Regions from separate parts of the Homo sapiens genome. Here all the other regions are linked to region 1. Evidence: promoter capture Hi-C in 16 types of primary human blood cells and fetal thymus (Javierre and others, 2016). All regions are on one chromosome and are shown on one strand. The core of a region is centred on a gene start or on the middle of the fragment in contact, and the rest is flanking DNA. Distances in the headings are between cores, read along the strand shown.

Region 1 (2,583 bases), core at 27-2,526:
TTTTAAAAATGCCACCACAGAGTTGTATTTGGTAAGTCCTACTTTATAAAATACTTAAGAAAACATATCATTTACGCTATGTGTCTCAAGGCAATTGCCAAATATATTTTATATGTTTACTCCCTAAACAATACCTATTGTTTATTTTCTCTACTAGTTCGTTCAAGAGGTACAGTGTTAGGAAGAAAAACTCTTAATGAAGCAGCAGGACCTACTCAGGGTGGTAAATGTCTTCAATTAGCTGGAGTGTGACGTGCCAACAGGGTATACCCTGGGGTTTAGTAACGCTAGAGAACTATCAATTACTAGTCACTCCAAAGGTATATAAAAATAAATTTAAGATACATTCCATTCCCAGAACTTTTCTAAAAAGATGAAGAACTTACGATTGCAGAACTCTTCAATATCTGACCATTGACTGCCCTTAAGGCAGATCACTGAGTCCTTCTCGCCAGGAATTTTCACAAAGCTTTCTTCACATTTGTACGTTATTACAGTATCCTCGGGAAAACTTGTACGGCCTTCCAAAGCTGGCTGGGCATTAGGTACATCTGGGGGAAGGCCACAGTCACCTAGGGAGACAAAAGCAGAACTGAAGGAAATGACTATCAAGTGTCCTCACAGTTGCTGTTTTCAAGACACAAGCCCCCTTGAAATGCCACACCTGAAAGAGATGACATGCAAGTTTGCAGCATCGTGTGCTCCACACGGCTGGACTCTGTCGAGAGTGGGGAACGGTCAGCGGTCTGGCCTCCCATCCTTTTAGACCAGCTTTTTGGGGGTTAAGGATACAGTCTCTTTGAGCCCTCCCTTTCGATTTTGCCAGGCTTGGCTGCTCCGCAAACCCAGCCGGGGCCTCTTTAACCCTCCACGCCGACCCCTAAAGCCAAGTCAGCTGGGGGCCGACACAGCAGGAGCCCCAAATGCTGGTGAGCGGCGAGAGCCTTAAAGGCACAGGACGGCGGGAACCACGACCGCGGGCCAAGCTCCCCACCTGCCAAGTCGCCGGCCCCTGTGCGTGTCTCAGAGACCGACTTGGACCTCCCACCCAGCCCAGGGGCTTCCCCGGCCGCCGGGCCCCTACTCACCCCACACGGCCGGCAGGCACAACAGCACCAGCAGCAGCAGCCGGGGCAGCTCCCCGAGGAGGGGCAGCGCCGCGGGCACGCTCGGCCGCGCGACGGTCATGGCGCGCCGGGTTAGAACAAGGACGCGCCGCCGGGACTCCGCCGAGTCGCAGCTACGCCCAGCGGCCGGAGCGAGTTGCAGTAAGCAGAAGCCTCGTGGCTCCGCAATACCAGTTAAATGAGTGCTTTGGGCGGGGTCTGGGCTGGGGCTCTGCGTCACCAAGGGTGGGACAAACAAGACGGGTGGAGTAGGGGTTTGTTGTGGTCAGAGGTGCGGTCAGAGGGCTCCGGCGTCATACGCCCCGGGGGCCCTAGACTCGGGGAGAGTGGGGAGGGGAAGGAGGAGGAGCTCGCTGGCAACACCCTCTGGGACTCACTCTCTCCACTGCTGGGTGGGGCCTGCGATGACCTGCCTTCTAGAAACCTAAATATCTCCTCGCTACGTAAACACAAACGGGGTGTAAACGGGAGAGGGGGAGGGGTGCTCAAGTATCGCAGGCCTTGCTGCCCGCACGTGAGTTCGTCTAAGCGGAGCATCCCCGCGCTTGAGTGCTGCCAAGGGGACCTGCAGGTGCGGTGGAGTTCGGGGGCTGAGACTCAGGCGCTGAGACGCGGTGCTCTACCCGCGTCTTGGGCCCTCTACTGGGAGGTCTGTCAAAGGCCAGCACGAGGGTGGGGAAATAACTAAGGAGGAAGGGCGTCATCTCCTAGAACACTCTCTAATGTGAAAACAGAGACCTGGGGAAACAGGTTGAATAACACAGTAGGGAGTGAACATTGTTCATGCCTTGTTCGGGTGGGAGTCATTTTCTTCACCCGGGTTCTCCTTATTTACGAAAGACACCACTTTGGGATTACTCCAGACTGACTGTAGAGAGAAATTCACCAGTGTGCGTGTGTGTATGTGTGTGTGTGTGTGTGTGTGTGTGTGTGCGCGCGCGCGCGCGCGCCTCGGGGCGGTGTGGGGTGGGATAACAATAAAAACAAACAGACCCCAAAACGCTGAATGGTGGTGGGGTGGATTTTAAGAGGAAGGCTTGTTACAAACCCTTTAGAATAAATAGCCTGAGGTTTGCAAGACTGGCCACACATTAGAATCACGTGGGGAGCTTATATATATATTTATATTTATATATTCATATATATTTATACATATATAAATATATATTCTTTAAGTTCTGGAATACATGTGCAGAACATGCAGGTTTGTTACATAGGTATACACGTGCCATGGTGGTTTGCTGCACCCATCAACCCAACATCTACATTAGGTATTTCTCCTAATGCTATCCCTCCCCTAACCCCCACCCTCCAACAGGCCCCCGTGTGTGATGTTCCCCTCCCTGTGTCTGTGTATTCTCATTGTTCAACTCCCACTTATGAGTAAGAACATGCAGTGTTTGGTTTTCTGGTCTTATGTTAGTTTGCTGAGGTTGATGGTTTCCAGCTTCATCCA
Region 2 (2,583 bases), core at 25-2,524, 630 kb after region 1:
CACAGGCTGCCCTGGAGCCAGGCACTAAGCTTACGAAAGGGCATCTGTGCTGACCCAGATACTGCTGATGGTCAGACCCGGAGCAAGTCAGCAAGCTATCCTGCCTGCCCTCCACCTCTGGCCTGCAGCACCGCCTTCTACTGCCTCACCCTGCCGGTGCTCAGGAGCTGCTCGAGCCGACCCTCTGTGCAATGAGGCCTGGAAAGTTTAGCTGACCTATTCAAGGTCATGTAACTTGTTAGCAGCATACAAACACTGGAAGCTTTCTATTTATGTATGCACTTATTTTTGCTTTCTTATCTAGCACATAACCCATGGTAACAAGCTCATCTCTACATATCTATATCTGTGTATGTGTGTATATATATATATATATATATATCTTAAAATACAAAATACCAGTATTTTCCTAAAAACTAGAAAAGGTACACAGCAATCTGATTTGGGTTCTATAACTGCCATACGTTATTACACTGTCCAGTGACATGGCCCCTTCTCTTCACCAATGCCCCCATTTACAAGGTAACCCATGTGGAAAGATCCTAGCTGATGCGTTAGTGGAGCTCAGTTTTGCTCCACCAGGTCTACAGTCTTCTAGCAACCAAAAACCAAAGGGGCCCAGACCAAGAGCAGGTCCCAGGGAACCAGGTCTCAAGATGTGGCTCGGATGCTGACACCATGTAAGACCTTGGACATGCCACTGAACATTTCTGCACTAGGCCAGCTTCTTCCTCAGTGATGTGCAAGGAGTCAAGAAAGATGACCAGGGAGTGTGGGTTCTAAGTTACTATGAAGTGTGGGTTGCTTTGCCACTGGGCCTCAAACCATTACCAAGAAAAGCTGCAGTCCCTGCAAAGAACAACTCTTCTCTGCCCATCCACCTCCCTCCAGGACACAGAACCATCTGGAAAGATACAGTGCAGGGAAGAGGGGGAAAAGAGACCTCACATGACACTTGGCAGGGCCTGAAGTAGAGGAAAGGTAGGAGAATAGAGTGAATCCTGCACCACAGACATCACGCCACCAGGAAGAACCCCAGCTCAGAGCATGGCAAGGCTGCTTGGGAACTGGGCAATGGCTCAGATGCAGACGACTGTGCCCTGCTCTTCCCCATCTTGGCTGACATTCCTCCTGGCACCCACTCAGCACACTCCTGGGCTCTGGCTAACAGGAGCTTTGGCCCCTCCCCTAGCCCAAGGATTAAGTTTGCCTCCAGCAGTTCTGAGGCTGGGCTCTTCCAGGCCCTCCTCCCAATCCCCTGTACCTGCTTCATAAGAAAAATCATCAATTATGGATGGCCCAACCTCTCAGGTCCCAAGTAGCAGAAACATCACAGGTCCCAATACCTTCCTCCTCCCACAAAGGGGTTCTTTTGTTTCCTAGACACCCACCAATATTTGGCCCTAAGGCCCAGGGACTGCTTGTCTCTCCCCTCCTGTCAGCCACTGATCCCGTATCTTAGCTGGAGATTGTCTCCAAGCTCAGTCAAAGCCCAGAATTCACAAGTAAAAAAGGACAGTGAGCTGACCCAGCTTCAATCTTGCCTCAGTGGATGCCAAGGGCCCTGCTGCAGGAGCCAGGGGTCAGGGCTGGGGTCAGGGCTACGGCCAGGAGGGACAGGATCTCTGAAACCACAAACCTGACCCTTCCCTCATAATTCTGTAAGCCCATCTTCAATGATTCCTAACCTTTTTTGACACCTTCATGCCCCTCAAACACTTTAAAGCCTGCTTTGACACAAGATGAGTTAGCTTCAATTTGGAGCCACCAACCCCTGACCACTCTGACCTCCTGTTCCTCCCCTCAGTTCTAGCCAGGCCAATGTCACCACACCTCTCACAGACTTGCTCACTCCTCAGAGGCACAGCCATGTCCCACTGACCCCAGCTGGAGCCTCCCTTAGCTCCTGGAGTCACCACAGATTCCCCTCTTTCAAAGCTCCTCTATTCCCAGCCACACGATTTAGCTCCCAGACCAACAAAGTCTAGGAGAACGTTCTGCAAGGATGAAAATGTTCTTCTGCATTGTTCAATTCGATAGCCATTAGCCACATGTTTACTGAACACTTGAAGTGTGGCTAGCAACTGATTTTTCAAATTTAATTTAGTTTAATCCATTCATGTTAATTAATTTTAATTTAATTAGCTATGTGAGGGTAGTGGCTACCAGATTGGACAGTGCAGCCCTAGCCTACATGTGTTAATTTCACCTTCTCTAAATAAGTTTCTTGACTCAAAATTTTACAGGCCATTTTTTACATGTGTATCCTCCATGCAACTAAGCTTATGATAGATATTCAGCAAACTGTTACCTACCTGTAACCATATTGCATATAAAAGAGGCTGGCTTGGTCAATGAAATTTTCCTAACCTTGTGACAACTCCAGCAAACTCCAGTTTGGGACACTGCCTCTCACCTAGCCACACTAACTGTCTTGCCCTCCACAGGTACACAGTATGAGGTGTGTTGGAAAGGAGATGGTGCCTGTACTGTGGGGATGTGGGAGCTCTGGCATTTCCCTCCAACAGCATCCAGAATAATCATGAGAGGCTCCAATCATCTCCCCTTCACCAGAACAAAGGA
Region 3 (2,583 bases), core at 46-2,545, 610 kb after region 1:
GTTTTTTTCTGGAGGAATTTACCTCCCCTGCAAAAAAAAGGTAGCAGTGTTGACTACTGGGGAATAGGTACTAGAGAGAGGCGTGTATTTTTTTTTCTTTCTGTTTTATATCTCTATGTATTGTTTGAACCTTTACCATCTGAATGAAATTTTTTAAAAAAAATTAAGTAAAAGGGTTTGGGTTCTGAGGTGCAGTATGATTCAGGTCTTATATTTGAACCCCTGGCCTGAGACAGTGACAGAGATGTGCCCCAAATGTAGGCCAACCTTCCTGCTAGAGGCAGGAGAGCACAGATGAGAAATTTCACACTGGCCACAGGAGGAAGAGAGGCCTTGCATAACTCTAGGTCAGAGGCCACACTTGACCAGGCCTGGCATCTTCCCAGAGGATGTAACCCTAAGAATTGATAAGGAGCGAGCAGAGGCCCCAAAGCCCCAAACCACTGCTGCAAGCCACTTCTGACTTATATGGACATGAACACTGCACACAGCAGTGATGTCAACCACACAGGAGTCTTGGGTAGGAAACTGAAAGATGGGGACAGAGATATTTCTTCTGTTTCTTCCAGCAAATGGCACTGAAAGAGAAAGAGGAATTTTCATTTCAACCGCATCAATTATGTACCAGGTGCACTTTATATATAGCAAATATTGCTATATTTAAGCTTCCTAGCAGCCCTACAGAACAGGATCCATTGCTGACTCCATCGTACAGGTGCGGCAACCAAGGCCCAAGGAAGTATTAATAATTTGCCCAAGGCCACATGGCTAGTAGGTAATAAAGCCAGGACTCAGACCCAATTCAGATCTAACCTTTTATTCACAGCAAAGGAGGCTTTGACAAATAAACCCTGAGCTGGTAATATTAGTTTACCGCTGGCCTCTCTCGTCCCCTCCTAAGTGACTCGTCTTTGCTCTGTTCACAGGCCTGCCCTATTCGCATCAGGCCTGGGGCCAGAGCCCAGTAGAGAAGAGTCACAATAAACACTTACCAATTAAATGGGCAGACTGTACACCAGAACAAGATACAAGGCATCTTTCCCTAGGAGACCAGGCAGACAGTGGTAGGAAGGAAACACCCTAAATGTTCCAAGTTGGCTTTAAGCTAAAATCCAAGTGGCAAGAAGAGAAAGATCATGTTCTTAGTAGTATCTAGGTATCTAGTATCTACTTTAAAAAATCCACAGAGATGGACAAACTAGCAAGAGAAAGTAAGACGGAAGGAGGTCAGGAACACTGCGCCTCTGGCCTAAGCAGCCCCCATGCATACGACCCTGTGCGGCTGCCAAAGCAAATCTAAAATTTTACTTTGAAGCGACAAAAGCAATCTCACCTTCATCACCCCAGCTGAGCAGAATGAGACTCACAGCAACGTATACCTGAGTCCACAGATCTCACAGGGGGTGGAGGAGAGTTGACAGAGAATGTGGAGGAAGAGAAGGATCCTACAAATCAAGAGGGCGGCCCACACACACACATCCCCCACCCAGTACACAATTCCACACGCCTAAGACTGGAGACAACTGGGTGAGGAGAGAAGGAAAAAGAACCGGAAGATAGATGATTGTTATGGTGACACACAGCAGACTACATGGCCAGGGAGAAGACAGGAACCACTCTTTCCTACACAGTGAGAGAAATGGCCCAGACACAAGAGTGAGTTCAAGCCACCAACACAAACACAAGGTCACTGTGAGAGAGAAGTCGAGGTCATGCCTTCTGCTACGAGCAGGGCACCTGATAAATAAATTCTCACTCTACATTACCTCTCACACAGCTGAAGATACAAGGAAGGGAACTATTACCCTGAACTTACTTCTGGCCAGGAAGAAAAACCTAGTAAATTATGTTTAAAAAAAAAAAAAATACTTCAGCTAGCAAAAACAATAATAACAAGAACACCACATTGGGAGGAAGTAAGCTTGTCAATTCAGAGTTCAAAGGAGGGAAATTAAAAAAAAAAAAACTGAGACAAAAACAGTTGTTTAGCCTAGACTTCAAAAAAACCAATATTCAGGTCAGGCGCAGTGGATCACACTGAAATCCCAGCACTTTGGGAGGCTGAGGCAGGAGGATGGCTTGATGACTAAGAGGATACAAAAAGGAGAAGGAGGAGTTCAAGACCAGCCTGGGCAACACAGGGAGACCCCGTCTCTATGAATAATTTAAAAAATTAGCAGGGCATGGTGGCACTAGCCTGTGGCCCCAGCTACTCAGGAGGCTGAGGCAGGAAGATCACTGAGCCCAGGAGGTCAAGGCTGCAGTGAGCCAATGATCGTACCACTGCACTTCAGCCTGGGCAACAGAGTGAGACCCTATCTCAAAAAAAAAAAAAAAGAAAGAAAGAAAAAGAAAAAAAAAACCAATATTTAGATGTTGAGACCAAGGAGTATGATGGGCAGAGATCCCAAAAGGGAATGCATTTTGAAAGACAAGGTCCAAGTCTCTAAAAAGTGAATTCTGATCATCTAAAACACAATAATCGCTTAAAGAAGAAACCAGGAGGAGGCAGCCACAAATGTCAGGGAGAAGTGAAGAGCTGAGACAGTAAAGGATGTGTGCAAAGACACGAGCAACTGCCCA
Region 4 (2,583 bases), core at 54-2,553, 560 kb after region 1:
TTACAAGATACACACTTATTCACTCAGAACTTATTATGCTCCAGGTACTATGCTGGGTGTCGAAGAAAAAGCAGTGAATAAGACAGACATAATCCTTGCCCTCGTGGATTTCTTTTAATTTTTTAAATAGAGATGGGGGTCTCACTATGTTGCCCAGGCTGGATTTGAACTCCTAGGTGCAAGTGATCCTCCTTCCTCAGCCTCCCACCAATCCTGGCTCCAGCTACACGGATTTAATAGCTAGTTGAGGAAACAGATATTATAAAGTTAACTATATAATGTTATTATAATCATGATTATTTCTATTAATTAGAAGTGTGAGATTTCAGAAAGCAACTAACCTAGACTCAGGGCTAGGGGATGCTTTCATGAGATGGTAACATTCAACTGGACATGAAGGATGAGCAGGAGCTGGCCCAATGAAGAGAGAGGTGGTAAGAAGCAGAGCATTTTGCAGATTTAAAGACCACTAAGAACAGCAAAGAACGGGGGAGAAGGGGTTTATCTCTGGAGCAAAGGTAAATTTGTACCAATTCACGACCCAGCTGGACCCTGGGCTCTCTTCACAGCTCTCTGACTTCTCCATCCCATCTCATGTTCTGAGGCCCTGAGGCAAGAAGAAACTTAAACTCTTTGAGAAACTAAAAGATGAATCACAGAGAGTAAGGGACATTATATGTGATGGGGAGAGATTTAAGACGAGCTTGAAGAAGTGGGCATGGGTCTGATCACTCAGGGATGGTAGGCTATGGTCAAAAATTTAGACTCTAAGAGCAAAGGGAAGCCATTGAAGGCTATTAAACAGAGAGGATAATATATACCTTCTGTATGAGACCATTTAGGAGCCATTTGCTTCCAGTCCAGACAGGAAGAAATTGTGTTCTGGACTAAGGTGGTAATAAACAGGAATTGAGAGAAGTGCAAGGTTTCAAATAGTCTGCAATTATTTAGGTCAGAATGGTGAGAGTGGGCGACGGCCAAGGTGAACCCTCATCTCTTGTCTGAGCAGCTGGGTGGAGAAGCAGCAAGTTTGAAGGGGAAGGTGATCTGGTCTACACTGGTCCTGCTGAGTTGGAGGTGCCTCTGAGTCTTTAAGTGAAAATATACACGTGGTCAGATGGACATCAAGATTGAGTCTGGAGATCACTATGTGGGGGTCATTGATACAAAGATGGTGAGTAAAATCGTGGGAGTGGGTAAGATTACCAAGGGAAAACAGTGCAGAATGGAAGAGAAGAGAGCCCAGAACCAAGCTCCGAAGAACCCAGATATTCATAAGCCAGAGCAGGAGAAGCTGTCAAAGAGACTCATTAAAGAGTGGCCTGAGCGATAAAAAGAAACACCAGAAGAGAGTGGCATCCCTGAGGACAAGGAAAGAAACTATTTCGAGAAAGAGAATGGTCAGCTAGATCAAATGCTATCAAAACGTCAAGTAAAATCAAGGCAAAAGAGCCCCTAGTGCATGGAACACATGAAAGGCACTGTTGATTTTATCAAGAAGAGCTGTAAGGATGTAGAGCTGTAGGGATGTAGAGCGGTAGGGATGGAAGACGGATGGTTGCACATGAAATAGGAGGTGAAAAAATGGGGTGGCTCATGCCTGCTATACCAGCGTGGTGGCTTACGCCTTCAATCCCAGCACTTTGGGAGGCCAAGGCAGGCAGATCATCTGAAGTCAGAAGTTCAAGACCAGCCAGCCTGGCCAACATGGTGAAACCCCATCTCTACTAAAAATACAAAATTTAGTCGGGTGTGGTGGTGCACGCCTGTAATCCCAGCTACTCGGGAGGCTGAGGTGGGAGAATCGCTTGAACCAGGGAGGTGGAAGTTGCAGTGAGCCAAGATCATGCCATTGCACTCCAGCCTGGGTGACAGAGCAAGACTCCATCTCAAATAATAATAATAGGATGACAAGCGTGGACAACTGTTTCAAGACATTGGGCCAGGAGAGGAGAAGAAGAAGTTGAAGACAGAAGAGTGAGATGGGAGAACTGATGAAGTCAGGTTACTCAGAAAGCAGGACGGGGTGGGATGCAGGCAGAGCAAAGAACTACCTTTGAAATGAAGAGGGCACCTCCTCTGAATAATAACAGGAAGAAAGTAGAGACGGTGGGTACAGAAGCAGGTTGGTTTGAAGAATCGTTGGCAGGAAGTTGAGGTTAATTTCATCAGATGACTTATATTTACTCTTAAGAGAATGAATAAGGAGAGAATGCAGGGCGGTTTAAGGAGAGAAACAAAGGTTTGAAATGATGTTTGCAGAGACACGGAAGACAAACGACTCTAGAGAAATGTAGTAGATTCCCAGGCAGTGTTGAGCTCAGTTGAGGTAGGTGATCATGAATTGAAATGGTCTGCCAGACTATATCATTTTTCTCAGGATTCTTTTGGCAGCCGGGGGAGCAATACATAGAAGGCAGAATTGTTTTGCCCCGTGAGTATAACAAAAAGACGAGGAGGAGGAGTTGAGAGTACAAGTGTACCTCATTTTATTACACTTCACTTTATTGTGCTTTGTAGATAATGCAGGGTTTTTTCATAAATTGAAGGTTCGTGGCAATCCATGACGAGCAAGTCTATCGA
Region 5 (2,583 bases), core at 59-2,558, 520 kb after region 1:
GGAGTCTGGTGGATTCTTCTAAAGAGCATTTCTCTGGGATTCAGATAATTTCACCCATGCAGTTAGCACCCATTCTATCCTTGAAAGATACAGCTGCTCTTCCTATAAGGTAAGAGAATTTCAGGTTTGAACAGAGAATTTTAGATTGAAAAATTCAAGCCCATTTTCTATTCTTCCACCCGCAAACAAAGGTGCGGAAAGCAGTTGAGGAAACAGGCTGAGGTGAGTTTCCTTGAAGCCTTGCTCTCTTGCATCTCTGTTTGATCCCTGGGTCATTCCCTCAGGCATCTCTGGTCAGAAACACTTTTAAACCCCAAATCTCATTCTCACTGGGTTTGCATTGTACCTGGAAAGATGCTGACACCAATAAAAGCTTGTTGCTTAAAGACACAGCCTATGACTCACACAATGCACACTTTATACACCCTAATTCCTTCCATCTGTAGTAACTTTCAGCTTCTCATTACCTAAATTATTTCAGTGCACTCAACCTGGGGGTTATTGTCATATAGGGAATCAAATGAGGTGCCAGAAACAGATAAAAATCAAGAAAACAACAATTTGAAAAGGTTATCATTGGCATCAGGGAATGTCTGTGTTGGAAAGGATCTCCAGGTTCATTAGCCCCCACTCCCAGCACAGGAACCCTCTTTGTCATGACTCGGACAGATGTTATCCAATTCTGCTTCATGACTTTCAAGACCTGGGTGCCACATTCTGCAGTTGTCATCTGCAAACTTGATAGGCAGGTGAATGTGGCAAGCAACCCATATTTAAATATACCTGAAGCCCTCCTGGAATTTACACAGCTACATCTTTCCCTGTACTGCCCTGCAAGAAGCGTGAGAGAAGAAGCTCTTCTGAGCCTCCTGCCTGTTACAGAGAGCAAGAAAGGGAAGGGAAGAGACAGGGCGAAGAGAGAAAGGATTACTTGATATTGTAGTGTTCAAGCTGGAATAATTTTCCCTCCCACCTTGCTGGAGTGCTTTCCAAGTGCTATTTCCTAGAGCAATGCCAGATTAGTTGTTCCAGAATTCCCAGGGGGCTTTGCACAGAGTCCCAGACCCTGTCCCTGAGAGTTGAATTTTGTACATCTGGGATGAAGCCTGGGCATCTCTATTTGTTAAAGCTTAGGATTATTTTGAAGTGCAGTCAGTTTGAAAGTCACTTTATTAGAGGGCTCTGGACTAGGTCACCCCATTCCTGGTGGTTGAAAAACCTCATTGCAAGCAGATCACTCCTATGTCCTCCAGCAGTTTTCTGTAAGCATGTTTTTGTGTTGCTGAAGGCAGCCCCATCAGCCCCCAGGGGAATAATCCTTTCCTGTTCTCTCCAGCCATGCTCTGTAGGATCACCTGAGGCCTGTGTCTGGGCCTCTTTATCGCAGCACAGTACAAGCATCCAGCTTGTACTCTTTGTTGTGGGCTGGCCAAGATGCTGACAGGAACAAAAATGACTTGTTTTTGAGAGTAAAGATACAAGCTTTGACTCAGATGACGCACACATGTTCATGGAGGGAGACTCTCACATCCGACCTACCTTCTTCCGTCCACAGAGAGTCACGTTGCTACTCTAACCACATCACTAATTCCGAAAGATGGGGACTCCTACACAGGGCCTCCAGGTCAATGCCTCTGATTAGGGCAGGGAACTGGAAGGCATCCAACCCCGACTTCCTGGCACCCCAAGTTCTCTCAGCAGCAACAGCGAAAGCCCATGGATGTAACTGCATTACAGAAGCCAAGGCCCTCAATGTGTAGACTCTCTGGGGTGCTATTTTAAAAGGCAGACTCTCAAGCCCCACAAAAAGATGTTTTGAAGATTGGAGTGAGGCCAGAAAATCCACCTTTTGAGCAAGCAGGACTAGGGAATTCTGAGTAAGACTAGTATTTGAACTTTACCCATTTGGGACTGAACCTCAAAGGAAAAAAGGGATCTGGAAAAGGAAATGACGTCCCCCTCGCCCTTCCAGGGCCACAGCTGCTTCTGTTCTTGAGATATTGGCCAGGCCCCTTATTTCTTTGACATTCCCCTTGCTTTCCTGTCCCCTCGTCTTCCTTAACAGTCCTTCTTATCTGCCAGAAGATTGGTCTTTCTTTAAGGCTAGCAGTTAGCCTTGATTGGGGATCCAGTTCTATACATGTGGGCATAGAGGACAGAGCAAGAAGACAGGACAAGTGAGCAGAACTATACAGGGAAGGGAGGGACAGTGTTGGAAGAGAAGCCCAGGCTTGGAACTTGCCCATGGCAAAAAAAAAAGAAAAAAAAAATTGAAAATTTGTACCCTCATTATGTCACCAGGAATTGAAATTAAGTATGACTCACGATTTACCCATGAAGCTCTTTCCCAATTAGTCTGGGTTGTGTCACCAAAAGACCTGAATTTAAGTCATGACTCCATCACTTATTGGCTTCGTGATCTTGGGAAAATTATTGAACTCTCTGACATTTAGTTTCCTTATCTGTAAAATAGGGGTAATCGCTTGATAAAGGTGCTGTTCGTTTTGATGAGGTAATATATAAAAATGCTTAGCCCAGGTTTTGGTACATGGAAGGCAGAAAAAAAAACCACCCAGATATTAT

What was found. Contacts are between HindIII fragments. The CHiCAGO score rates a contact against its expected background, and 5 or more counts as called.
Region 2: a contact is called between a fragment that was not itself captured here and the fragment with the promoter of CD55 in region 1, in 1 of 17 cell types (neutrophils). The highest score is 5.2, in neutrophils.
Region 3: a contact is called between a fragment that was not itself captured here and the fragment with the promoter of CD55 in region 1, in 1 of 17 cell types (megakaryocytes). The highest score is 5.6, in megakaryocytes.
Region 4: a fragment that was not itself captured here is called in contact with the fragment with the promoter of CD55 in region 1 in 1 of 17 cell types (total CD8 T cells); the score reaches 5.2 in total CD8 T cells.
Region 5: a contact is called between a fragment that was not itself captured here and the fragment with the promoter of CD55 in region 1, in 1 of 17 cell types (naive CD4 T cells). The highest score is 5.3, in naive CD4 T cells.

Annotation. Positions count from the first base shown.
Region 1 is chr1:207,320,371-207,322,953 of GRCh38, reverse strand. CD55 (CD55 molecule (Cromer blood group)) reads right to left here and starts at 1,276. Exons shown (of 10, transcript NM_000574.5): 1 at 1,089-1,276; 2 at 387-572. The coding sequence starts at 1,188. LOC107985251 (a long non-coding RNA gene) reads left to right here and starts at 825. Exons shown (of 3, transcript XR_007066838.1): 1 at 825-1,268. RefSeq lists a silencer at 1,001-1,080 and an enhancer at 1,641-1,850. The HindIII fragment of the contact is 4,328 bases long and covers 472-2,583 here.
Region 2 is chr1:206,689,282-206,691,864 of GRCh38, reverse strand. The region is part of intron 1 of MAPKAPK2 (MAPK activated protein kinase 2); the gene reads right to left. Among named protein-coding and RNA genes, the nearest start is that of MAPKAPK2, 5.7 kb to the right of the region's middle. The HindIII fragment of the contact is 2,020 bases long and covers 265-2,284 here.
Region 3 is chr1:206,715,384-206,717,966 of GRCh38, reverse strand. All of the region lies in intron 1 of MAPKAPK2 (MAPK activated protein kinase 2), which reads right to left. Among named protein-coding and RNA genes, the nearest start is that of MAPKAPK2, 32 kb to the right of the region's middle. The HindIII fragment of the contact is 1,256 bases long and covers 668-1,923 here.
Region 4 is chr1:206,757,585-206,760,167 of GRCh38, reverse strand. No RefSeq gene overlaps it. Among named protein-coding and RNA genes, the nearest start is that of IL19, 12 kb to the left of the region's middle. The HindIII fragment of the contact is 3,786 bases long and covers 1-2,583 here.
Region 5 is chr1:206,802,354-206,804,936 of GRCh38, reverse strand. The region is part of intron 2 of IL19 (interleukin 19); the gene reads right to left. Among named protein-coding and RNA genes, the nearest start is that of IL10, 31 kb to the right of the region's middle. RefSeq lists an enhancer at 1,710-1,759. The HindIII fragment of the contact is 353 bases long and covers 1,132-1,484 here.